Regions from separate parts of the Homo sapiens genome. Here all the other regions are linked to region 3. The links are contacts of gene promoters, found by promoter capture Hi-C in blood cells and fetal thymus (Javierre and others, 2016). All regions are on one chromosome and are shown on one strand. The core of a region is centred on a gene start or on the middle of the fragment in contact, and the rest is flanking DNA. Distances in the headings are between cores, read along the strand shown. Region 1 has its middle 20 kb from the start of TSPAN33. Region 2 has its middle 22 kb from the start of HILPDA. Region 3 holds the start of ATP6V1F (ATPase H+ transporting V1 subunit F). Region 4 has its middle 4.7 kb from the start of HILPDA. Region 5 overlaps AHCYL2 (adenosylhomocysteinase like 2). Region 6 overlaps IMPDH1 (inosine monophosphate dehydrogenase 1). Region 7 overlaps SMO (smoothened, frizzled class receptor).

Region 1 (3,621 bases), core at 106-2,605, 260 kb after region 3:
GTTAAGCACTGCAGGAAGAGCTGCCCACAGTATGGGGGTGGGTCATCTGCTTCTGGACTGCCCAGGCCAACTGTGGTTACCCCAGTTAACTGTGGTGAACTGTCCACATAACCAGCCTTCTGGATCTGCCTTTCAAGGAGTCCCACTGTGCTTCTCCCTGCTGAGGCCGCTGAAAGGGCATAGGCAATTGCTAGAGGTGAAGAAAAACTCTGTAGCTAAGCTATAAAAACAGGCATCCTGAATCTGGCTACATCCTGGTAATCTTGCACATAGGATGAATCCTAAGAAAAGGTGAGTCTTGTTAATGTGCACAGCACACAAGCCAGCGGGATGGCGTGCCAGTCAGCAGATTTTCAGTTTCAAGATAACTGAAAATCCATTTTTATCTGACTTAGACAAAATGAAACAAAACACCAAACCAACAAACAACAACCACACAATTTCACTGATTCGCATAACTGAAAAGTCTAAGGTTAGGGCTTGTTTCAGGCACCACTGATCTTGTGGCTCAAACTATGTCACTGGGACTTGGTTTAACCCTGTCTCAGCTCTACCTTTCCTCAGTGTTACCTTCTCTCTCAGGAGCCCTGGGGTAGCCCCCAGTGGCTGCAGGTCATCTGTAATCCCAGGGGGTCCCAGCAAAAGAGAGAGGGAATCCCTTTCAGTAATGGTCCTCCTCCCCAACTAAATTAGAGGCTTCATTCTGACTGGACCAAGTTAGAGCGCATAACCATCCCTGGGCTCTGATTGGCCAGAACAGAGTCCGGCGTTCCACCTGCCAGGTGGAAGGGTAGATCTCTCCCATGCTCACTGAGCCTGAGACAGGAGGTGGGGTGGCATCCCAAAGGAAATCTAGCATGCTGGTACCAGAACGGGGAATAGGTGCTGGGCTTGGAAAAATAACAGACAAACACTCAGTGCTACCCATTTAAGCATTTGAAATAATTTCACTTCAAAATCAGAGTGGTCGAGTCTCAGACACATGAGATTCTGTCTCAGATTTCTGGTGGCTTGAATGGAGGGTGTACAGAATCATGTCTTGATAAATGTTTAACTTCTAAGATTTGAAGTGCAGATATTGGTCTGGGTATCCCTCCTAGAAATCTTTGCATTTTCTGCATTTTCTTTTTAATATTTTATTTTTATTTTTATTTTTATTTTTTTGAGACAGTGTCTCAGTCACCCAGGCTGGAGTGCAGTAGTGCGATCTTGGCTCACTGCAACCTCCGCCTCCCGGATTCAAGCGATTCTTGTGCTTCAGCATTCGGAGTAGCTGGGACTACAGGTGTGAGCCACCACGGCTGGCTAGTTTTTGTATTTTTAGTAGAGACAGGGTTTTGCCATGTTGCCCAGGCTGGTCTCGAACTCCTGGCCTCAAGTGATCCTCCTGCCTCAGTCTCCCAAAGTGCTGGGATTACAGGCGTGAGCCACTCACTGCACCTAGCCTATATTTGAATTTTAAATAGTGATTCCACACCTTAACCTAACCATAATGGGAATTGGATTAGAGAATGGTGGGAATTTCAGACAAGTTGGTGAGGGTGAGAAGTAAGGGAAGAGAAACGTTATGGAACCTCTCACATAAAAAGTGCACAGTGGCCTACCCCTATATGGATGTGAGACTGCTCCTGATAGGAAATATCCCCAAACCCCTTGTTTGCAGTCCACGGCCCCAGTCTCAACTCCACCAAATCATGATGCTTCCCCTGAGATCATGATTGCGTTGCCCAGTTTCCTCTCTGACCAGACCTGATTCTACAGACAAAAGCCAACCTCCTCACTTCGATTCCCCTGGATCCTTTCCTCCTCTTCACATCTACAGCCGCTCTTCTAACTTCTTACTCCCGTTGCAATTCCAGATATTCCAGAGACAGGATATCTCCAAGGCACTCCAGGGCCCCAAATAACAAACCTTATTTGTTTTCCACCTCACACAATCTGAACTCTTCTGCCTGCCCTTTGAAACCCTTCGCGAACACCTCCAACCTTATTTCTTGCTCCTCCTCAATACAGCCTGTTCTGGTTGGCACAGCCTCACCTCTTACCTTTGCCACGATGCTACTCCTGCTGCGTCACTCAGTTCTGCATGGTGAGTCTCCTCCATCCACTGTGATCTGGAACCACGTCATTGTCAGTGGAGGTTGAATACAACTGGAATTTTTTATGGGATTCTAACAGACCTGTCCCTGATAATGGCGTGCCCCTAATTTCCGTTCTTTACTGACTACTCATTGGCTGTATCACTCTAGTTGCACAAATGATCTCTATCTCCCTCTATGCATGCCTACTAGGTCCAGGGAAGTAATATAGTGTTTGTAACTAGGAGTGGTAAAGATGATGGCTAATTGGAGAGAGTAAGCTCAAGCTAAAAGCATTCAAATTCAATTTTTTTTTTTTTTTTGAGACAAGGTCTAGCTCTCTTGCCCAGGCTGGAGTACAGTGGCATGATCACAGCTCGCTGCAGCTTCAAACTCCTGGACTCAAATGATCCTCCCACCTCAGCCTCCGGAGTAGCTGGGACTGCAGGTGCTCACCACTATGCCCAGCTAATTTTTTTTAAAAAAAAAATTGTGGAGACAGAGGTCTTTCTATGTTGTTCAGGCTGGTCTTGAACTCCTGGGCTCAAGTGATTCTCCCATCTTGGCCTCCCAAAATGCTGGGATTACAGACATGAGCCACCGTGCCCAGCTCAAATTCAAAAATTTTAAGACATTATGGGACAAAGAAAATTCACCTGTCCATCCAAATAATGTAATGTGCAATAAATCTGCAACCACTGCTTAAGCTTGTCTTGAAGTTTTTCTGTTTTGCAGGACTCTTCCTGAGCAGTACATTTTCTTCTCTTCTAACAGAGTTAGAATTTATTGCTTACAACTCTTTCAGAAAATGGCAGTAATTAGAAATGGAGTCTGAGGAGGGGGATTTGCTCAAAATACGAGTATCGTTTCTTTACCATTTTTCTTTAGCAATGTATTCTGTAATCATAAATGAGCTACATGAAGATCTGAGCACAGCCTGGAAATATTGCATGTTTAATATCAGCCTCCTTTCCCTTCTTCAGAATTAAACTCTGGATCCTTCCTAGACTTGGCCAGTTCCAAGTCACGACTTCGTCAGATACACTCTTGCTGTAAGAAGCAGTAAAGTTCAGTGGTTATGATCACAGACCTAGAGCTGGTCTATCTGGGTTTAAAGCCAGACTCTATAGCTTTCTGGATGTGGCTGTCTGTTTAACCTTGGGCAAGCTAGGTGACCTCTGTTTGCCTCAGTTTCCTCATTTGTGAAGTGCGGATAATAATAGTACCTACCTCATGTCATCGTTTTAAGGATTAAATGAATTAACACATTTAAAATATAAGAAGTTTGAAAAGCTCTTGGACTCCGGCTGCAGCGTCAGCCTCCCTCGGGCCTCGGCAGCGGCGGCGGCTCGCTCGCCTCAGCCCCAGCGCCCCTCGGCTACCCTCGGACCAGGCCCGCAGCGCCGCCCGCCCTCGGCCGCCCCGACGCCGGCCTGGGCCGCGGTCGCAGCCCCGGGCTCGCGTAGGCGCCGAACGCTCCCGGCCCGCCCACTACGGGCCCAGGCTAGAGGCGCCGCCGCCACCGGCCCGCGGAGCCCGGATG
Region 2 (3,826 bases), core at 912-3,411, 430 kb before region 3:
ATCAGAGTCTATTGATCTTTTCTAATCATAGACTATAGATTCTTTCCTTCCTCTTTGTCTTTGTTGCCCTTGCCCAAACTACAGTCAAATTCTGGAGGCACCAAAAATCTCAGTGGAGGCAGAAAAGATGAATAAGAGCTCAACAGACAAAGAAAGGGTCATTTCAAGTTTTGAGAACAGTACAAGCAAGGCTCAGAGGCTTCCCATGACATGGTGCTCCGTAGAACAAAATGTAGCTCTGTGTATAGGAACACAGGCCCAAGCAGAACCATATGGCATGATAGCTGGGCACACAAACACGCGGCTACACTGCCTGGGTTTGAATTCCAGCTCCATCACTTATTAGCAAGTTACTTAAATTCTGTGTGTCTCGATCCCTCATCTGCAAAATAGGATCATAATAGTCCCCACCTCTAAGGGTTGTTGGGAGGATTAAATGCTCTGATAGATGGAGAGAACTTAGTATAGTGCTGGGGCATAGTAAGTACCCCATAGATATTACTGTTCCCAATTCATATGTAAGTGTTGGGGCAGCCCATCCTTCACCATTCAACTCCAAGTCCACTTTGCACAGGAAGCTTTCTTCAATTAATCTGAAATGGCTGTCACACATCACCCCAATGTATTCACGCACTCTCATTTGTATCAATGTTTTGTTTTGGCTTTTGGTGTGTGTGTGTGTGTGTGTGTGTGTGTGTGTGTCTCAGGGTCTCACTCCTGTCACCCAGGCTGAAGGACAGTGGCGCAATCATGGCTCACTGCAGCCTGGACTTCCTGGAGTCAGGTGATTTTCCCACCTCAGCCTCCTGAGTAGCTGGCACTATAGGCGCACACCACCATGCCTGGCTAATTTTTGTATTTTTTTTTGTAGAGACAGGGTTTCGCCTTTGCCATGTTGCCCAGGCTGGTCTCAAACTCCTAGGCTCAAGCAATCTGCCCACCTCGGCCTCCCAAAGTGCTGGAATTACAGGCGTAATATTAATGTTTTTACAAATTTATTCTCCAACTCTGGGTTGGGGATTGTCACATCAACAGAGAGGGAAGCTTACTGCAGAAAATTAGGGAGTCGTTTTGTGACACAATGACTCAGTTATGCATTCAACTTTCGGTCAGCAAATATTTATTTATTTATTTTTTAAAACTAGAACATTTGTCACATGACTAGTCACTGAAATTCTTAAGATGAACTGGATGCTGCAACGGCTACCCTCTTGGGTTTAGGTGTGTTCCTTTTCGGAATCTGTGCCTCAGTCTGTGGCAAACAATTTTTAGGTGTCTCATTCAACAAGTTCTGGTGGTATTTCGCCATTTAGCCTTGGCACCCAGTTATATTTCCTCTTGTGTTTGGCAGGGTAGCCACATTTGCCACAGGTCGTCTTCTGGAGGTGGTGGGCCTTAGAGCCACAGTGGTGGCACAATGTGTGTGTCTTACTGTGATGCTTTCCAAACGATGAGATTCCCTTCATCATCTCACTTCTGCAGCTGAGACCAAACAGACTGGAAGATAAGGCACTTCCACTACATCTGGTCAGCAAATATTTATTGAACACTTACTATGCGTCAGACACCATGTTCCTCATGGCTTCCCCTAAAGCTCCATGTAGGAAAATTAAGCATGAGGGTAACTGATTGAAGGGTCTCAGAAAAACAAACCTTTGTGGCTAACATCCCTCCTCCTGGCCACCTGCAAGATTTAGCACTGATTACCCATCTTCAAACCCCTTGTATTAATCTGTTCTCACACCACTATAAAGAACAGCTGGAGACTGGGTAATTTATAAAGAGGTTTAATTGACTCACAGTTCCTCATGGCTGTGGAGGCCTCAGGAAACTTACAATCATGGTGGAAGGGGAAGCAAACACATCCTTCTTCACCTGGTGGCAGCAAGAAGTGTGGGAGAAGCCCCTAAGAAAACCATCAGTTCTCATGAGAACTCACTCACTATTTTGAGAACAGCAGCATGGGGGTAACTGCCCCATGATTCAATTACCTCCCACCAGGTCCCTCTGAGGACACATGGGGATTATGGGAACTACAATTCAAGATGAGATTTGGGTGGGGACACAGCCAACCCATATAATCCCTCTTAAAAATAATGCATTCTATCTAGGCTGCTGTAGCGGTTCACACCTGTAATCCCAGTGCTTTGGGAGGCTGAGGTGGAAGGAACACTTGAGGCTAGGAGTTTGAGACCAGCCTGTGCAACCAAGCAAGACCCTGTCTCTACAAACAAAAAAATTTAATTAGCTGGGCACAGTGGTACGTACCTGTAGTTCCAGCTACTGGGAGTGGGGCAGGGTGCTGACTCAGGAGGATCACTTGAGCCCAGGAGGTTGAAGGTGCAAGCTATGATTGCACCACTGCACTCCAGCCTGGGCAACAGAGAGATACCCTGTCTCTAAAAGTAAGTAAGTAAATACATAAAATAAATAAATAAAGCTGGGTGTGGTGACTCACACATTTAATCCCAACACTTTGGGAGGCCAAGGCAAGAGGATCACTTGAACTTGGAAGTTCAAGACCAGACTGGGTAACACTGAGACCCTGTCTCTATAAATAAAAAAATAAAAAAATTAAAATTAAAAAATACAACTAGTGCATTCTGATTGGGTCAAGGTTCTAATTTACCCAGAGAGGTCATACATCAATTATCTAATAGCATAGGAATTCCATTATCTGATTAACTCATCTTCTGTCTACAGCCATACCACCCTGAATGCCTGATCTTGTCTGATTAACTCATCTTCTGGAGCACATGGATCCATAATGGGCTCCAGTGGGGCTGAGAACACTAGAAATTATCTGCGTTTGTATCTGTACTATTTCCCCCTGGATTCAATTTCAGGCAGTATAGGAACTAGATAATCAGACAGTATTCCCACCTAAAGCATGACAAACATTCCTTTAAATGCATAGCAGAGCTTGAGGGTGGAGGAGGAAGGGAAAGCTACAGGGACAACAAACAAACAAACAAAGCAAAGAAATGAGAACCCTGAAGCTGTGGCTGGATTTGGGTGGGCGGGGACGGGGAGGGGGCTGTTCAGTAATGTTAATAACCAAAGCCTGGCATAAAGCTGGGGCCCATCAACAAAAGGGGGAGAAAGGGAAAATGTATCTGCTTCAGCCATAATTCTGGACCTGAAAAAACATTTCCACTGAGAATTTGCAATCCTGGGCTTCAGGCGTATTTGCAAACAGAATGCATACTGTGCCTGGTATGGGCAAACACAAGATCAAACATGAACAAACATTAGCGGTGGATTGTTAGTTCCTTGAAGAAGCTTTGCGCAAAGCTTCTCTGGAGGAGCTGCAGTTAACCCAGGCTATGTATGATTCCCACACAAAAAGTTTGGACAAGTAAAGCTCAAATGCAAAAAATAAATCACACAGAAACAAGCCTACATGAGCAAATGCCAGCATACCCAAGAAACAGCTGCATAATATCCTTTCCATTTTCCTATAACAGAATTATTAGGTATGAAGTAAAAAATAAGAATTTAAAAAATGTTTACAGAAAAATAAAAATAAACTGAAAACATGACAAAGGAGCCATATGCTATCAAAACAGATGAGATTTGAAAAAAATAAATCAATAGAACATCTAAAACTGAAAGCCACGATAATCAAAATTAAAAACTCAATGGGCAAGTTAAACAACAGATTAGATAGGACAGAAGACAGAATTAGTGAATTAAAAAAAATACAGAAACAAAAATAGGCCAAACCCCCTCCCCTACAAGATATAAAAAGTTATATAGAATGAAGCAGAGAGGGCCAAAAACTTGGAAAATATGAAGGAAATATTAAGAGACATGAAGACCAGAC
Region 3 (3,758 bases), core at 589-3,088:
CAGGCCAGAAACCTGGAAATCACCCAGGTCTCTCTCTCTACCTCACTCCCCAAACACATCCACTCTGAAACCAGTTTTGTCCTAAATATCTAAATATCTCTCGGCTCTACCTACTTCTCTGCGTTTCCCATTATCACCACCTGAGTCCTGGCCACCATTATCTCTCACAGTGGCCTCCCAATTTGGTTTCTCCTCCCTCAGTTTCGCCTCTGCACACAGCACAGTCAACAGTGAGTGACAGCTCTAAAACGTAAGTTTGGCGATAGCACTCTCTTACTTGAAATCCCTCAGCAGCTTCAGGATAACTGTCCTCAGGATAACTTCCAGATCTTTTTTTTTTTTTTTTTTTTTTTTTAGACAGAGTCTCACTCTGTCACCTAGGCTGGAGTGCAGTGGCGCCATCTCAGCTCACTGCAACCTCCCTTGCCCGGGTTCAAGCAATTGTCCTGCCTCAGCCTCCCGAGTAGCTGGGACTACAGGCACACACCACCTCACTGGGCTAATTTTTTTTGTATTTTTAGTGGAGATGGGATTTCACCATGTTGGCCAGACTGGTCTCAAACTCCTGACTTCAGGTGATCTACCCGCCTCAGCCTCCCAAAGTGCTGGGATTACAGGCGTGAGCCACCGCGCCCAGCCTGCAGATCCTTTTTTTTTTTTTTTAGACAGGGTCTCGCTCTGCTGCTCAGGTTTAAGTGCAGTGCCGTGATCATAGCTCACTGTAACCTTGAACTCCTGAGTAAGCCCTGCTGCCTCAGCTTCTCGAGTACCTGGAACTATAAGTGTGCACCACCACGCCTGGCTAATTTTTTTTTTTTTTTTTTTTTTTTTTTTTTGAGACAGAGTCTCGCTCTGTCACCCAGGCTGGAGTGCAATGGCACAATCTCGGCTCACTGCAACCTCCGCTTCCCGGGTTGAAGCAATTCTCCTGCCTCAGCCTCTCGAGTAGCTGGGACTACAGGCGCCCACAACCACGCCCGGCTAATTTTTTGTGTTTTTAGTAGAGACGGGTTTTCGCCATGTTGGCCAGGCTGGTCTCAAACTCCTGACCTCAGGTGATCCACCTGCCTCAGCCTCCCAAAGTGCTGGGATTACAGGTGTGGCGTGAGCCACCATGCCTGGCCTTACCAATTATTTAACTTTCCTTGAAGGCCCTACGCTCTCTAGTCAGTACGCCTTTGCACATGCTGTTCCTCTGCCTAGAACACCGTCTTGTCCTCACTTCTATCCCCTTCATCCTGCAGGTCCTTCAGGTCTCAGCTTAGATCTGAAGCAAGCTTCTTGGGGAAGGGTTCTTTGGACGCCCCCTCTCTCCATGGGTTAGTTACCATGGATGTGTGCTTCCATATACTTTTCACATTCTAACCATTAACACACAGCTTTGTAGTCGCCTGTTCCCTTGACTTTCCACCTCACTAGGCAGTATCATCATTAACTTTTGCATTCCTTTAACTGAACAAACGTGTGTTACTTGTTAACTATGTGTCATAGTTACACACATACATACACGATAAAGACCCAGACCCTGCCCTTGAGATGAGTAACTGCGTCTCTTCTCTGGGGTCTCGGCGTCTAACAGCGTCAGGTCCAAAGCGCTTGTTGAACGAATGAACCAAGGAACGAGTGAATGAACGAATGAATGCCCGCGAAGGACGTGGTGCCGCGCGGTCTTCTGGGAATCGTAGTCCCCTGGTTCGGGCCTGTCTTTACGGCGCAGGCGTATTCACATGGAGGCCGTGTTGCTGTTAATGCGCATGTCCCGGAATGCGGCTGGGAGGACTGCGCATGCTCGAAGGGTGGGGGTTGAGGCCGACGGGGCGCCGTACGGCGGAGGCGGGGTTTCAGTGGCTTCTGGTGCTCTAGGGTGAGCTCTGCCCGGCTGCAGGGATGGCGGGGAGGGGTAAGCTCATCGCAGTGATCGGAGACGAGGACACGGTGACTGGTTTCCTGCTGGGCGGCATAGGGGAGCTTAACAAGAACCGCCATCCCAATTTCCTGGTGGTGGAGAAGGATACAACCATCAATGAGATCGAAGACACTTTCCGGTACGGTACCGCGCGAGGCCTGAACGGGCCCTTCTGCTGCTCGGTGGAGTGCGGGGCGAGGCTGGAGGCTGCCCGGACGGGGGTGAGGGGACGATCCTGAAAGTCCTTCCGCCCTTCCGGAGCGGAGGCCTCCGCGCCCCAAGTCCCCGTTTGGGGCTCGGTGGGACAGAAGCTGTATCAGGTCCACGAGCCCCCCCACCTCACATGATCGTGTGTCATGAAAGAAGGGGAACAGAGCTCGTGACAGCCTAGACAGTGGGCTTGGACTTTGTTCTGCTTTCTCCTCCTTTAGAGGCTCACCATCGTCCCGTAAGGCAGGGATGATTTTTGTCCTACTCACAGGTGAGAAAACTAAAGCTCGGAGAGGGTAAGGCACACACTAAAGTTACGAGTCGGCAGAGGCAGAGCTAGAATTTGAACCCAATCTCAACCCTTTCTGCCTCCGGTAAGCCAGGTACACACTCTTGGCAGGTCTCCTCAGGCGGCCTCGGAATTTCCTTGTAGTCTTGAGCACAGTAGGCAGAAATGTCGGGACTGTGAGAGCCTTCTGCTAAGACCTTGCACTCAAGCCCTCACTGCCTGCCTTAGGTCAGAGTGTGGGTGCAGGCATGCTTTTAATCCACCAGGGGTCCTGGTGACTGGAATTAAGGATACCAGCCTCCTATTTTATTCCTCACCCCTTCTCCAGGGCCCCTGTACCAAGTCTCAGGAATAAACCACTCACCTGTTTCCCCCAAACAGTCCAGCCCAGGGCTGCTGGCTGAGACTGGTTCCTGCTGCCTGGTGTATTAGGTAGTCCCTGACCTGGGAGGCTGTTATCTGCCATTCTCTAAGCTGTCTGGTAAAGTGACCCAAGTTATCATGGGAGAAGGACAAATTTTACTTCAAGAATTTTTTATGTTTCCAACCAAAAGGGACCTCAGAGATCAAATCTAACCCAGTGACTGGCAGGGGGTGGGTGCTCAGTAAGTAATTTTTAATCAGTAAATAAACGAATGAGTCTGGGTGCAGTGGCTCACGCCTGTAATCCCAACAGTTTTGGAGGCCGAGGCGGGTGGATCACCTGAGCTCGGGAGTTTGAGACTAGCCTGACCAATATGGTGAAACCCCATTTCTACTAAAAATACAAAAATTAGCCAGGCGTGGTGGCGGGTGCCTGTAATCCCAAGAAATCAGGAGGCTGAGGAAGGAGAATTGTTTGAACCTGGGAGGTGGAGACTGCAGTGAGCCGAGATCCACCACTGCACTCCAGCCTGGGTGACAGAGGGAGACCCTGTCTCAAAAAAATAAAAATAAAATAAACAAATGAATGGGTGGGTGACCACAGGAGAGAAGGAGCACAAGGCCAGGTTCTTTTTGTGCAGAAAGTGTGATTCCTTCATCAAGGTGTCCTCTTCCTAGCTTGTGATCTTAGTTCATGCCAAACTTTCCCTCTGACCCCTCCACCACCCTCATCAGGATAGACCTTGAGGCCTTCAGTGGTCTCATCAGCCCTATTTTTAAATAATTTGTTTTCTTTTTAAAAGTTAATGTGTCTTTTTTTTTTTTTTTTTCTGAGACAGGGTCTCACTCCTGTCACCCAGGCTGGATTGCAGTGGCGTGATCGCAGCTCACTGCGGCCTCGACTTCCCAGGCTCAAGTGATTCTCCCACCTCAGCTTCCTAAATAGCTAGGACTACAGCTTCCCAAGTAGCTGGCACATGCCGCCACATC
Region 4 (3,339 bases), core at 685-3,184, 400 kb before region 3:
TTCCTGTCCCACGTACAATTGTATTCACTCCTTTGCCCTTCAGAATATATTTATTTACACTCCCATCTGGGCGTGTGCATCATTTTATTAACTTGACTGACTTTTGCTAAAGCGCAACAATGAAGTACAGTGTCTTCTGTTAAGCCAGTTTTGCTTCCTGAGTGTTCTTAAAATGTCACTACCCTAGAAGCCTGTGGGTTAAGCATCACTTTCATTTATTGCACAGTGGTTGTCACTAGTGTTATTTATCAAGTATTTCCAGTTTCCCACCTTTCGGGTACATGGTAAATTGGTCCCCTTGTGGCTGGCAGGGTTTATATGACTGTTACTTTGTTAGCATAGTACTACTCTCAAAAGTCTATTTGGCTTTTTCTCTGGTTTCAGTTTCATGTGCCAGTAGTTACCCTCTTCTAGTCATATTTCTTATATTTGATATATTTTCTCATTCTCATGCTTCTAATTTGGGGTATTTTTGAACCTTCAATTGGAGAGCCTGCACCTTAAGTCTCTCCTCCAAGTGGCTTAGTTTAATTGAAGTGATCTGTGTGCCACCACCCCCTTGTGGTTGGATGGAGCCATGTCATTAGTTCTGGCCAATGAGCTGTGAGTGGTAGTGGCTTGCGTTAATTCTACGTGAGAGCATTTCAGTGCTGGAGAAACCTGCGAGGACCTCTTTTTCCCTCTGTGCAGTGACCAGCAGTGCTTCCTATGGAACTGTTCATTAGTGTAGGTCCTGGAATGAGGATGCATGGCGCAGGGCCCTTAATCTGTCCAATCTGACTGTGATGTGGGAGAGACTTCTAGACATGTTGCTTTCTCTAGGGTATGTTCTTATATTTCCCATTACCCCCCACCCCCTGCAAAAGGACTGGGCCTGTTTTGGGAAGGTGACTGATACCCGCACTGTAGCACAGGAATTGTGCTACTGATATCTGGGGGTTTTGTTAACTGAAGTGTAACTTAGCTTATCCTGATTGGTACATTGTGTACAGCACCTATTGGATGCCAGGCATCAGCTAATACCTCATCGCTACCTGCCTCAGATGTACACAAGGTATTGGGAGGAAGGCATGTGAACAAATAATGTGTCATGGTTTTGTGATAGAAATACGTATACAGGATAGTGGGTATATAAAGTTATTTGTAGGCAGGAGAGGGGTGTTCAGGAAAAGCTTCTTAGAGGATCTCAATTTTTTAAAAATGCGTAGGTTGTAGGCTGCTGGCCAACTTAGGAAAAGGTGTCTCAGCGGAGGGAACAACGGGAGCAAAGGCATGGAGATGAGCCTATGCACAGCTCATTTAGAAAACTGCAAGTTCAGGCCAGGTGCAGTGCCTCACGCCTGTAATCCCAGCACTTTGGGAGGCCGACGCGGGTGCATCACCTGAGGTCAGGAGTTTGTGACCAGCCTGGCCAACATGGGGAAACTCCATCTCTATTAAAAATACAAAAAATAGCTGGGCGTGGTGGCAGGTGCCTGTAATACCAGCTATTCAGCAGGCTGAGGCAAGAGAATCACTTGAACCTGGGGGTCGGAGGTTGCAGTGAGCCAAGATGCGCCATTGCACTCCAGCCTGGGCAACAAAAGTGAAACTCCATCTCAAAAAAAAGAGAACTGCAAGTACAGGCCAGGCACAGTGGCTCGTACCTGTAACCCCAGCACTTTGGGAGGCTTAGGCAGGAGGATTGCTTGAGCCTAGGAGTTCAAGACCAGCCTGGGGAACAGAGCAAGACCCCGTCTTTATTTAAAAAAAATTATTTAAAAAAATTTTTTTTTCCATTCAGGGTCTCATTTTGTTACCCAGACTGGAGTGCAGTGGTGGCATTGTGGTTCACTGCAACCTCCACCTCCCGGGCTCAAGCAATTCTCCTGTCTCAGCCTCCCCAGTAACTGGGACTACAGGTGCACACCACCATGCCCAGCTAATTTTTGTATTTTTTGTAGAGATGGAGTTTTACCATGTTGCCCAGACTGTCCTCGAACCCCTTGGACTCAAGTGATCCACCCGTCTCAGCCTTCCAAAGTGCTGGGATTACAGGTGTGAGCCACCGCACCCGGCCCACTACTCCCCCAACATTTTTTTAAGCGTTAGCTGGGCATAGTGGCGCACACCTTTAGTCCTAGCTACCAAAGGGGTTGAAGTGGGAGGATCACTTGAGCCCAGGAGTTTGAGGCTGCAGTGAGCCATGATCATGCCACTGTGCTGCAGCCTGGGTGACAGAACTAGACCCTGTCTCCTAAAAAATTAAGGCTGGGCACGGTGGCTCACACCTGTAATCCCAGCACTTTGGGAGGCCAAGGCAGGTAGATCATTTGAGATCAGGAGTTCGAGACCAGTCTGACCAATATGGTGAAACCCTGTCTCTACTAAAAATACAAAAATTAGCTGGGCATGGTGGCAAGCATCTGTAGTCCCAGCTACTGGGGAGGCTGAGACAGGAAAATTGCTTGAACCTGGGAGGCAGAGGTTGCAGTGAGCTGAGATAGTGCCACTGCATTCCAGCCTGGGTGACAGAGTGAGACTCCATCTCAAAATAAATAAATAAAAATAAATAATTTTTCAAAGTGCAAGTACAAATTTTAAATCTTACTAGCTTGTGGCCTGAACTCTAGTGCCACCTAGTGGACCCTAAAGAAGGGAATATTTTATATACTGTATGCTGTGTAATGCTTTCTGAATTTGAATGACACTACCTCTGAAGCTTAAGATAACTATGAGAATATTAAGGGCTGGAAGATAAGATCTAGCCCAGCACTGTCCAATAAAAACATAATGCAAACTACATATATAATTTAAAATTTTCTAGTGTCCCATTAAGGAGTAAAAAGAAACTGAAGATATTTTTAACATATTTAACGCAATGTATTCAAGATATCATTCCAAAATATAACATAAAGTGTTATTAATGAGATATGTTAAATACTTTTTTTGTGATACTAAGTTTGTATACTGGTGGGCATTTTATACTTAAAATATGTCTCTACTTGGATTTGCCACACATTTTCTTTAGTTTTTGTTGGTGGTGCTTTTTTTTTTTTTTTTTTTTTGAGAGTTTTGCTCTGTCGCCCATGCTGGAGTGCAGTGGCACAATCTCGGCTCACTGCAACCTCTGCCTCTGGGTTCAAGCAATTCTTGTGCATCAGCCTCCTGAGTAGCTGGGATTACAGGCACCCACCACCATGCTGGGCTAATTTTTTTTTTTTTTTGGTAGAGATGGGGTTTCACCATGTTGGCCAGGCTGGTCTCAAACTCCTGACCTCCAGTGATCTGCCCACCTTGGTGTCTGTGCTGGGATCCTTTTCTGTTAACTTGCTTATAAAAATGTCACACTCTGTATTA
Region 5 (3,577 bases), core at 36-2,535, 410 kb after region 3:
TGTTAGTTCCTTCCCTCCACATGTGCACCACCCCCATCTAGTGGTGGAGTTTATTCCTCTGTTCATACCAAATCTGGGCTGGCCTTAGTGACTTGTTTGGTGAAATGTGGCAGAGATAACATTCTGGGACTTTCAAGGCCAGGTCATGAAAAGTTTTGCAGCTTCCATCTAGGCCTATTTGAACATTCTCTTTTGGATTGCTGTGCTATGGAACATTTAGTCTTGGAACCTAGCTGCCATGCTGTGAGGAGTCCAAGCCAGATGGAGAGGCTCAGCTGAGCTCCTAGCCAACAGCTAGCATCACTTTTCAGCTACGTGAGTTCCAGTTCCAGTGGGCATCATATGGAGAAAAGCCCAGGCCCTAGGCGTATGGCTCCCAGTCTAGTTATCCTCAATCAATGGAGCCACCTTACCTGAGGCCCCAGATGTTATAGAGCAGACACGAGCTGTTCCTGCTATACTCTGTCTGAATCAGAATTGTGAGTATAATAAAATGGTTGTAGTTTTATGCCACTAAGCTTTAGGGTAGTTTGTAGTGATAGATAACTGAAACCAAATTTGGTACCTTGAAATAAGGTGCTGCCAAAACCTACAATTTGCATTGGCTTTGGAATTTGGTGAGGGTTAAAGATGGAGGGACCTTGAGAAGACAGTGAAGGCTTGAAACACAGAGAGAAAAGTGTTATTGGAGGCTGGGAAAAGAGTGAACCTTTGTTATATAGTGATTCAAGGTTTATTGGTACTGCCACATGTGGTTACATAGACCATAGAAAATGTATCTAATGACTTCAGTGTATCTAAGGAGATTTCTAGGCAGAATGTTGAAAAAATGTTACCTAGTTTTTTCTAAGTATGATAAGGTACAAATTGATAAATGAACTAAAAAATGAACTACTAAGTTTTAAAACAGAACTTAGAGGAAATATTTCTAACCCAGGAATGGTTGTGTTATTATAGAAAATAAAACTTTTTCTCATCTCTAGTTGCTTCAAATGGCCAATGACTTTTATTTTATTATTATTATTATTATTTTGAGATAGTTTTTCTGTCACTTAGGCTGGAGTGCAGTGGTGCTCACTGCAACCTCTGCCTCCCGGGATCAAGTGATTCTCCTGCCTCAACCTCCTGAGTAGCTGGGATTACAGGTGCCCGCCATGATGCCCAGCTGTTTTTTTGTATTTTTGGTAGAGACAGGGTTTCACCATATCAGCCAGGCTGGTCTCAAACTCCTGAGCTCAAGTGATCCATCCGCCTTAGCCTCCCAAAGTGCTGGGATTATAGGCATGAGCCACTGCGCCTAGCCTGACCAATGACTTCTAAATAAATGGCTTCAGAGGAAAGATAAAATTCAAGATGCTACCAATAAAATATGGCCTCAAAGTAAAGATCTCAGTGATGCAACTGTAAATCCCTTTGCTAAGACTTTTTTTTTTTTTTTTTTTTTTTTGAGACGGAGTTTCGCTCTTGTTGCCCAGGCTGGAGTGCAATGGCATGATCTTGGCTCACCGCAACCTCTGCCTCCCTGGTTCAAGCAATTCTCCTGCCTCAACCTCCCTAGTATCTGGGATTACAGGCATGCATCACCACGCCTGGCTAATTTTGTATTTTTAGTAGAGACGAGGTTTCTCCATGATGGTCAGGCTCGTCTCGAACTCCCGACCTCAGGTGATCCGCCCACCTCGGCCTCCCAAAGTGCTGGGATTATAGGCATGAGCCACTGCGCCTGGCCGACTTCAGAAAGATTTAAGACAATGCCTCACAAAACCTTTCAATTAGATAAAGGGATATCTAGAGGTCTTAAGGGAATACTTCTTAGGCTTACTATGTTAAACAATAGGGCTTCTAGGGATCTTAAGTGTGTTTTCTCACAGTAGCCTCACATAAGACTTGCGATAGAAAAGGTGGATGTGGCTTTTGTCTGCTGGAGTGAATCCCAATAAGATTCATAGGAAATCCACAAGATTTTAAAGAAATCATAATAATAAAAGAGGAACAGAGACAGTAGAAAGTGAAAATAGGCCTTTAGATTTCCAATCATCTATAGGCAGGAAACAAGCTTATAAGGCCACTCCATTGCAAAAATTAACCCATCTCTTATGTAAAAAGAAGGTTAATTCAGAAACTTAGAGGGTGGAGCCAAGGGTTGTGGAGAGTCATTCTCAAGGTGTAGGACTTGGCTGTAATAGAGGAACTGGTGATATGTGTCTGATTAGATTTCAGAATTGTTATGGGCCAGTAACTGTTATGTGTCTCCTGTTCCTTCTCCCTTTTTCCTCACATTTTGAATGAGAGTGTCTATTGTGCTTATCTTAAGTCAGTCTCACTATTGTATGTTTGTATGTTGGGTGTGTGGGAGCAGATAATTTGTTTCTTTAATTCAGATCAGGAGGAACTATACTGCAGTAGCTGTACCTGAGGAACTGCATCTGAGGAGCCTCAACCACATCTGGACCTGATTTAGATATCGAGATTCTGGACATCAAGCTGATGCCATAATGAAATGAGACTTTTGAAGGTCTTAGAAGAGGGTGAGTGTATTTTGCATGTGGGAGGGCCTTGTTGGGGCCAGAGGGTGGTCTGTGGTAGCTTGTATCCAAAGTGGCCGCCACCAATTTCTTCCCTTCTTGCTATTCAGTGGTGGAGTCTATTTCCCTTGTCCCCTTGAATCTGGGCTGGCTTTAGTGACTTGCTTAACCAATAGACTGTAACTTTCTGGGACTTCAGAGGCTAGGTCATGAAAAGCCTTGTGTCTTCTGCCTGTGCCCGTTGGAATCCTCTCTCTTGGACTGCTTGCACATAGAACCCGGTCACCATGCTGTGAGAATCCCCAGCCAGATGGAGAGGACACATGTAGGCACTGGTTGATAGCCCCATTGAGCTACCAGCAAAGAGCCAGTATCAACTGTCAGCCTTAGGAGTGAGTGAAGGAACCATGTTGAATAATCCAGCCCTAGCAGACACCATCTGGAGAAGAGCCAAGGTTTCAGACTTATGGCACATGTTAAGACATCTCAGCCATCTTCATCCTTTCAGGGCATCCCACCTGAGTTTCCCAGACATCGTCAATCAGAGACAAGCGGTCTCTGCTGTGCCCTGCCAGAATTTGTGGCCCACAGAATCATGAGAATAATAAAATGATTATTGTTTAACACTACTAAGATTTAGAATAGTTTTTAAATTTAGCCGTAGATAACTGGAACATGGCCAGGCGCAGTGGCTCACACCTCTAATTCCAGAACTTTGGGAGGCTGAGGCGGGTGGGTCACCTGAGGTCAGGAGTTTGAGACCAGCCTGGCCAACATATTGAAACCCAATCTCTACTAAAAATACAAAAATTAGCCAGGCATGGTGGTGTGCACCTGTAATGGTTGCAGGCGCCTGTAATCCCAGCCACTCAGGAGGCTGAGGCAGGAGAATCTCATGAACCCGGGAGGCAGAGGTTGCAGTGAGCTGAGATTGTGCCACTGCACTCCAGCCTGGGTGACACAGCAAGACCTTGTCTCCAAAAAATAAAAAAATAAAAAAATAACTGGAACATTGCCAAACTGAATAGAAAATAATCCAAGTCTATGCAGTT
Region 6 (3,384 bases), core at 75-2,574, 460 kb before region 3:
CAGGATGAAGGCTGCAGAGAAAAACAAAAAGGCCAAGCGACCACTGGCAACAAGGTGACTGGGGAAAGCCTCTTTCCTGGGAGGTGACCAGTGGGAGCCGATTAAGTAGAAGTCAGAGGGGCTGTCACTCTCGGCTGAGGGACTGAGTGCAAACCCGCCTCAGGGTCCAGTTCTTTCGGAGGCACACTTAAGAAAGAAAAAGAAGGCCAGGGGAGTGGAGGGAAGGGAGAGGCAGGAGGAAGGCAGGGGCAGCATGCATGGCCGTGAAGACCACGGACAGAAGCTCAGATTTGATTCGGAGAGAAGCCACTGGAGGGTCTTGACAGAGAAATGATCTGATTTATGTTTCAAAAAGGTCACTCAGGCTCCAAGGTGGAGAATGGATTCTGGGTGACAAGGGCTGAGGTGGGGGTAGGCATGGAAAAGAGTCTTTTAGGCATCCAGGAAAGCAAGCAACGAATGGTCTGGAGCTCAGGAGAGTGGTCAGGATTGCAAGTATCCATTTAAAAGCCACCTGCCCATGGAGGAAAGGCCAGAGCACATACCCCTCTGAGGGTCAGGCCAACAGTAGTGGATCCCAGTCCCCAAGACATTTGTGCAGACTTTGCTATGTAATTTTTTTAGATTCAAAGTCCCTGAAACCCATCACTAACCCTAGTTCAGACCTCTGGCCCCATGATCTAGAAAACACCATCTTCTCTTTTGTCATGCCACAGAAGGGCCACAGCCTTCCTGACAGAAGCCACAGGACAAGGAGATCCTTGCCGGCCAGGCAGGGTTTTTTTTTTTTTCTCTCTCTGATGGAGCCTCATTCTGTCACCCAGGCTAGAGTACAGTAGTGCAATCCCGACTCACTGCAACCTCCGCCTCCCAGATTCAAGTGATTCTCCTGCCTCAGCCTCCCGAGTAGCTGGGATTACAGATGCCCGCCACAATGCCCAGCTAATTTTTGCATTTTTAGTAGAGATGGGGTTTCACCATGTTGGCCAGGCTGGTCTCAAACTCCTGACCTCAGGTGATCCTCCTGCCTCAGCCTCCCAAAATGCTGGGATTACAGGCATGAGCCACCACGCCCAGCTGGTAGGGGTCTTTTCAATCCCTCCCTTCCTAGCAGCCAGCCCAGGGTCTGACACAAAGCCACACTGGCCAGTAAACTTTGTTAAACTGAACAGCTGCACCAAGCAGGCTTCCTGGTTGTTGTCATAAGGGAAACAACCAGAATCATTCGAATTTCCCCCTGAAAATCTGTCTGGGTCAGCTCTGGCTAAACACCAGCTGGATGTGAACTTCCCTCACATGTAAGTGATCCAGGCACACTCAGGCCCTCTGGCCTTTCATGAGAATCAGACCAGAATAAATAGCAATAATAATAGCAACAGAAAAGAAATGTTTTTTTTTTAATGTATATGAATTCATCATTGAATCATGGCACTTTTTCTTGAAATGACTTACACCATCATCACTACCCATCTGGGCTTCTCTGAGTTTATCATATGTTAATTGTTCATTGATTCGGCTCACTGATGAGCCCCTCTGGGAAAGCAAGGCACTGCGTTTCCTTGTATTTATCCAAAATGTAACTCTTTTAAACCCTCTTGCCAGTTCTTGTACATTGTGGATCAGTGAACAAGTCTGTCTACCGGTTTCAAATCTCCATAATTTCACTGGCTTCTATCATGTCCTTGTTCAGCATTCCAGACAAAATCCAATCCTTATGGTCTCTACAATAAGGCAGCCACTCCCAAGCCCACCGTTCCCACTCCCAAGCCCACCCCTTCCCAGGCCTCTTCTGAACCTGCCCACAGGCTCTGTCACTGACAGAGAGCCACCCAGCCCTGGGCCAGGCCTCACTCAGGACACTCCTGTGTTCCCATAGCTGCCTCTGCCCCATCAGGTATAACCCTTTGATCTCTGCCTGTTTCTCTGGCAACAATAAAGGCTATATCCACCCATACCAGCTGGGTGGAATCACCCCTGTAATCACAGCGTCTTCGGAGGCTGAGGCGGACGGATCACTTGAGCTCAGGAGTTTGAGACCAGCCTGGCCAACATGGTGAAACCCCGTCTCCACTAAAAACACAAAAATTATCGGGGGGTTTTGGCATGTGCCTGTAATCCCAGTTACTCAGGAGGCTGAGGCAGGAGAATCACTTGAATCTGGGAGGTGGAGGCTGCAGTGAGCTGAGATCACACCACTGCACTCCAGCCTGTGTGACAGAGCAAGACTCTGTCTCCAAAAAAAAAAAAAAAAAGGACTATATCCTATCCACCCATTCCCAAGAAAAGTCTCTCCATCTCTCCATGCCCTGCCCCTGAGCAAGAAGTCAGCCTCTTCCACCACATACACAGCCCCCTCCCCTTGTCAAAGGAAGAGGTACTCACCACCTCATCAGCTATGAAGTCTATGAATCCTGGGAGAATCAGGAAGTCGCTGTGAAGACAGAGAAGTGAGTGTTATTAGTGGGGAGGGGTGCCCCAAAGGGGCAGAGCCTGCCATGCCAGAGGAGGCAGCAGGGGGGTACAGAAAAGCCTAGAGGAGCAGAGGCTACAGCCCCCCATCCCTACTGCCCCATCAGGGCAGTTCCCACCTCGTGCACCTCACTAGAGTCTGGCAAACTCCAGCCCCCAGAGCTAGAGCCAAAGACAGCGAAAGGTCTACTGGGGTACCATCAAGGTAATAGGCCCAAAATATCCATTGCCTTTAAGTCTCAGAGTTTGTCAAGCGACACAGAAGTTCCCATATCGCCACACACAGCAGACACAGTGCCTGCCTTTGAAAACTTCTCAATCTTGATGGGGAGAGAAAATAAGTAAACATTGGGAACAAACCTGAGAACAATTTTGTGGCGCTCAACACAGTATGAACATGACCCAGCACAGGACAGTCCGCATGCCCCGGTGCCTGGGCTGCTGAGTCACACAGGGCTCGGAACAGCATGGAGGGACCCCAGGGGGCTGAGTGCAGGGCATGTTCTGACAGAGCAGAACAGAAATGGCCAGGACGGGAAAGGGGAGGAAAGAGGCCTTAGAGGTGGGACCAGGACACTGGGTCCCCAGCCAAAGCATGGCAGCTACCAACACTAGGGTGGGCCACGGTCACAGCAAACTCCGCAAGGGAAGTGCAGGCCTGCATGGGTACATCTAGGTGCAGGGTCACAGCTCAGGGGCCCCAACCTGCTAAAATCACAGCAGGCCTTGAGAGACACACCCAAAAGCAAATATCCCACACTTCAGGAACACTATGAACTGAGCTAAGCAAAGCAGCAGGCATCCCTAGCGCAGGAAGGAAAAGCCACAGGGTGGAGGGGGGTGGGTCATTAATCTGCCCTAAGGCCTAGAGAAACTCCTAGGCGTTCCCCTAGGGTGTTCTCCTAGAAGACTTCA
Region 7 (3,405 bases), core at 879-3,378, 350 kb after region 3:
GAAGATCAACCTGTTTGCCATGTTTGGAACTGGCATCGCCATGAGCACCTGGGTCTGGACCAAGGCCACGCTGCTCATCTGGAGGCGTACCTGGTGCAGGTGGGCATGGCAGCCAGCCCCTCCTGCCCTGCCCGCCTCACCCTCAGCCTTGGGACCCCATCTTTAGGTTTTGTCGGGTCCTGCCTCTAGCACAGCCTTGGTCAGTGGTTCACCGCTGCCCCCTGGTGGCACCTTCTGTCCTTGGGTGGCCTGATGCCTGGGCCTGGGCCTGGGCCAAGGGCAGAGCCAGCTGCCATCACCTTTTAAGAGCGGAGTGATTGGAGGGCTGGGCACACAGGAGCTCTGCATTCTGGCCCCACTTCTTTGCAGAGAAGGCCTCTACTCCTGAGTCCTTGAAGGACTTGAGGCCCTTGGGAGCCTCCTTCTCTGGAAAGAATGGCATCGCTGGCCCTTCCCAAGATTTGATGGGAAGTGGCAGCTTCTTCACGCTCCTTCCCTATCCCTTCTGCTCTCAGGTTGACTGGGCAGAGTGACGATGAGCCAAAGCGGATCAAGAAGAGCAAGATGATTGCCAAGGCCTTCTCTAAGCGGCACGAGCTCCTGCAGAACCCAGGCCAGGAGCTGTCCTTCAGCATGCACACTGTGTCCCACGACGGGCCCGTGGGTGAGCCTCACCCCTCCTCTACCGGAGCCGCCTGGCCCCGCGCTGCCCATGTGCTAGTCTCTCCCAGCCTGCTGGGGGCACACAGATTATTTGGAAGACCGACTGTGAGGAGCAAGGCGCTCCCTCCATCGCTCACACACCCATTCTTCCCCCGGCCCCTCCTACCCTCTGGGGGGCTCTCCCCTCTCTGTTTCTGCCCCTGGGTCTGCTTGCCGGTGCTTGGGTTCCAAGAAGACTCCCCTCCCTCTCCCTTCTCATAAATTCTCCAGTTGCTCTCCCTGGGCAAGAGTAAGTCAGGGTTCCAAGAACTGGATTTCTGGCCTCCAGTTAGGCCCTTTGGGGACGTGAGGCCCTTCTCTTCAGATTCTGAAGGGGTAGAGATCACCGTGGTTACAGGGTGAGCTTTCTCTGGTGAGCAGGAGGGACTGGCTGTGGGAAGATGAATGGCACTGACTATGGGAGGCACTGCCAGGGACCGGGAAGTCACTATTCCTTCTCCTTTCCTTCCTTCCATTCCCACAGCGGGCTTGGCCTTTGACCTCAATGAGCCCTCAGCTGATGTCTCCTCTGCCTGGGCCCAGCATGTCACCAAGATGGTGGCTCGGAGAGGAGCCATACTGCCCCAGGATATTTCTGTCACCCCTGTGGCAACTCCAGGTATGAGAGTTCAAGCTTCTGGAGGAAGGTGGGGGGAGCACAGAGGCTGGGGGCTTCTGGGACTGGAGTACAGGGGCTGTCGGAGGAGGAGGAAGAGGAAGGAAAGGCCCCAGAGGATCTGAAGAGTGGGGCTGAGGCTCTAAGAGTCTAGAGACCTGGGCCCCAGAACTAACAGGTTAAGTGCTCCCAGGGGAGCGGGGGTGGCATGGACAGAGCCAGGGCCCCAGGCTCGTGTTGTCTCTCCTCCTGTCAGTGCCCCCAGAGGAACAAGCCAACCTGTGGCTGGTTGAGGCAGAGATCTCCCCAGAGCTGCAGAAGCGCCTGGGCCGGAAGAAGAAGAGGAGGAAGAGGAAGAAGGAGGTGTGCCCGCTGGCGCCGCCCCCTGAGCTTCACCCCCCTGCCCCTGCCCCCAGTACCATTCCTCGACTGCCTCAGCTGCCCCGGCAGAAATGCCTGGTGGCTGCAGGTGCCTGGGGAGCTGGGGACTCTTGCCGACAGGGAGCGTGGACCCTGGTCTCCAACCCATTCTGCCCAGAGCCCAGTCCCCCTCAGGATCCATTTCTGCCCAGTGCACCGGCCCCCGTGGCATGGGCTCATGGCCGCCGACAGGGCCTGGGGCCTATTCACTCCCGCACCAACCTGATGGACACAGAACTCATGGATGCAGACTCGGACTTCTGAGCCTGCAGAGCAGGACCTGGGACAGGAAAGAGAGGAACCAATACCTTCAAGGCTCTTCTTCCTCACCGAGCATGCTTCCCTAGGATCCCGTCTTCCAGAGAACCTGTGGGCTGACTGCCCTCCGAAGAGAGTTCTGGATGTCTGGCTCAAAGCAGCAGGACTGTGGGAAAGAGCCTAACATCTCCATGGGGAGGCCTCACCCCAGGGACAGGGCCCTGGAGCTCAGGGTCCTTGTTTCTGCCCTGCCAGCTGCAGCCTGGTTGGCAGCATCTGCTCCATCGGGGCAGGGGGTATGCAGAGCTTGTGGTGGGGCAGGAACGGTGGAGGCAGAGGTGACAGTTCCCAGAGTGGGCTTTGGTGGCCAGGGAGGCAGCCTAGCCTATGTCTGGCAGATGAGGGCTGGCTGCCGTTTTCTGGGCTGATGGGTGCCCTTTCCTGGCAGTCTCAGTCCAAAAGTGTTGACTGTGTCATTAGTCCTTTGTCTAAGTAGGGCCAGGGCACCGTATTCCTCTCCCAGGTGTTTGTGGGGCTGGAAGGACCTGCTCCCACAGGGGCCATGTCCTCTCTTAATAGGTGGCACTACCCCAAACCCATCTTTTGTTCTCCTATATCCTCCTTCTTCTGTTCCATTTCAGTTCAGTTTCAGCGGTGCCAACCTCTTTGCGTTTCCTTTTTGTTGATGAGGACCCAGAGCTGCTGCACACACTCACCTCTAACCCCCTCCCCTCGCTGCTGGGCCCCATCTCCACAGGAGAGACTGGTTCAGCTCTAGGGCCTCAGTCTGGAGTGGGATAGGAGCAGTGAGTGACAAAGCCTCTGAAAGATGCATCATCTCTTCCTCACACCCATTTAGTGGGGGATGGGTCCTCTAGACTTGAGGGGCTACCCTGGGAAGCTGCCGTAGCTTCAGCCAGGCAAGAAAGCTTCCTTCAACCTGCATAGCCGGTGGGTGAGGAGATTCCCACCTTCCATAGCCTCCAAACATGTTCCCAAGGCCCCACTTTCAAGAATCAGACAGCAGGAAGCCATAGATGCTGGCTGGGTTCCAGGTTATGGGGAGAAGAAATACAGTCAATAAAAGGTTTTTGTATAAACTCTTGGTGTGTTTTTCCTTTTTTTTTTCTTTTTCTTTCTCTCTCTTTTTTTTTTTTTTAATTGAGATAAAAGTCTCACTCTATCCCCCAGGCTGGAGTGCAGTGACATGATATTGGCTCACTGCAACCTCCGTCTCCTGGGTTCAAGCAATTCTGCCTCAGCCTCCTGAGTAGCTGGGATTACAGGTGCCTGCCACCACACCCAGCTAATTTTTGTATTTTTAGTAAAGAGGGGGTTTCACCATGTTGGCCAGGCTGGTCTCGAACTCCTGACCTCAAGTGATCCACCCGCCTCGGGCTCCAAAGGGC

Evidence for each region. Contacts are between HindIII fragments. The CHiCAGO score rates a contact against its expected background, and 5 or more counts as called.
Region 1: a contact is called between a fragment that was not itself captured here and the fragment with the promoter of ATP6V1F in region 3, in 1 of 17 cell types (M0 macrophages). The highest score is 5.1, in M0 macrophages.
Region 2: a contact is called between a fragment that was not itself captured here and the fragment with the promoter of ATP6V1F in region 3, in 2 of 17 cell types (endothelial precursors and erythroblasts). The highest score is 8.2, in endothelial precursors.
Region 4: a fragment that was not itself captured here is called in contact with the fragment with the promoter of ATP6V1F in region 3 in 4 of 17 cell types (endothelial precursors, erythroblasts, fetal thymus and 1 more); the score reaches 7.8 in endothelial precursors.
Region 5: a contact is called between a fragment that was not itself captured here and the fragment with the promoter of ATP6V1F in region 3, in 1 of 17 cell types (naive B cells). The highest score is 5.1, in naive B cells.
Region 6: a fragment that was not itself captured here is called in contact with the fragment with the promoter of ATP6V1F in region 3 in 1 of 17 cell types (naive B cells); the score reaches 5.3 in naive B cells.
Region 7: a contact is called between a fragment that was not itself captured here and the fragment with the promoter of ATP6V1F in region 3, in 1 of 17 cell types (naive B cells). The highest score is 5.4, in naive B cells.

Annotation. Positions count from the first base shown.
Region 1 is chr7:129,122,900-129,126,520 of GRCh38, forward strand. It overlaps the pseudogene LOC407835. Among named protein-coding and RNA genes, the nearest start is that of TSPAN33, 20 kb to the right of the region's middle. RefSeq lists an enhancer at 1-225. The HindIII fragment of the contact is 2,855 bases long and covers 1-2,783 here.
Region 2 is chr7:128,432,245-128,436,070 of GRCh38, forward strand. It overlaps the pseudogene RPL37P16. Among named protein-coding and RNA genes, the nearest start is that of HILPDA, 22 kb to the right of the region's middle. The HindIII fragment of the contact is 2,238 bases long and covers 1,043-3,280 here.
Region 3 is chr7:128,861,018-128,864,775 of GRCh38, forward strand. It overlaps ATP6V1F (ATPase H+ transporting V1 subunit F), which reads left to right and starts at 1,839. Exons shown (of 2, transcript NM_004231.4): 1 at 1,839-2,045. The coding sequence starts at 1,888. FLNC-AS1 (FLNC antisense RNA 1) reads right to left here and starts at 1,609. Exons shown (of 4, transcript NR_149055.1): 1 at 1,508-1,609. RefSeq lists enhancers at 1,453-1,562, 1,643-2,132. The HindIII fragment of the contact is 9,717 bases long and covers 1,276-3,758 here.
Region 4 is chr7:128,458,942-128,462,280 of GRCh38, forward strand. It overlaps the pseudogene EFCAB3P1. Among named protein-coding and RNA genes, the nearest start is that of HILPDA, 4.7 kb to the left of the region's middle. RefSeq lists an enhancer at 434-728. The HindIII fragment of the contact is 1,529 bases long and covers 1,171-2,699 here.
Region 5 is chr7:129,271,899-129,275,475 of GRCh38, forward strand. All of the region lies in intron 1 of AHCYL2 (adenosylhomocysteinase like 2), which reads left to right. Among named protein-coding and RNA genes, the nearest start is that of AHCYL2, 49 kb to the left of the region's middle. RefSeq lists an enhancer at 1-184. The HindIII fragment of the contact is 1,538 bases long and covers 517-2,054 here.
Region 6 is chr7:128,401,324-128,404,707 of GRCh38, forward strand. It overlaps IMPDH1 (inosine monophosphate dehydrogenase 1), which reads right to left. Exons shown (of 17, transcript NM_000883.4): 5 at 2,383-2,431. Among named protein-coding and RNA genes, the nearest start is that of IMPDH1, 7.0 kb to the right of the region's middle. RefSeq lists enhancers at 2,410-3,026, 3,027-3,384. The HindIII fragment of the contact is 5,465 bases long and covers 1-3,384 here.
Region 7 is chr7:129,210,450-129,213,854 of GRCh38, forward strand. SMO (smoothened, frizzled class receptor) reads left to right here. Exons shown (of 12, transcript NM_005631.5): 9 at 1-99; 10 at 516-664; 11 at 1,187-1,321; 12 at 1,575-3,096. The coding sequence ends at 2,002. Among named protein-coding and RNA genes, the nearest start is that of AHCYL2, 13 kb to the right of the region's middle. The HindIII fragment of the contact is 1,589 bases long and covers 1,335-2,923 here.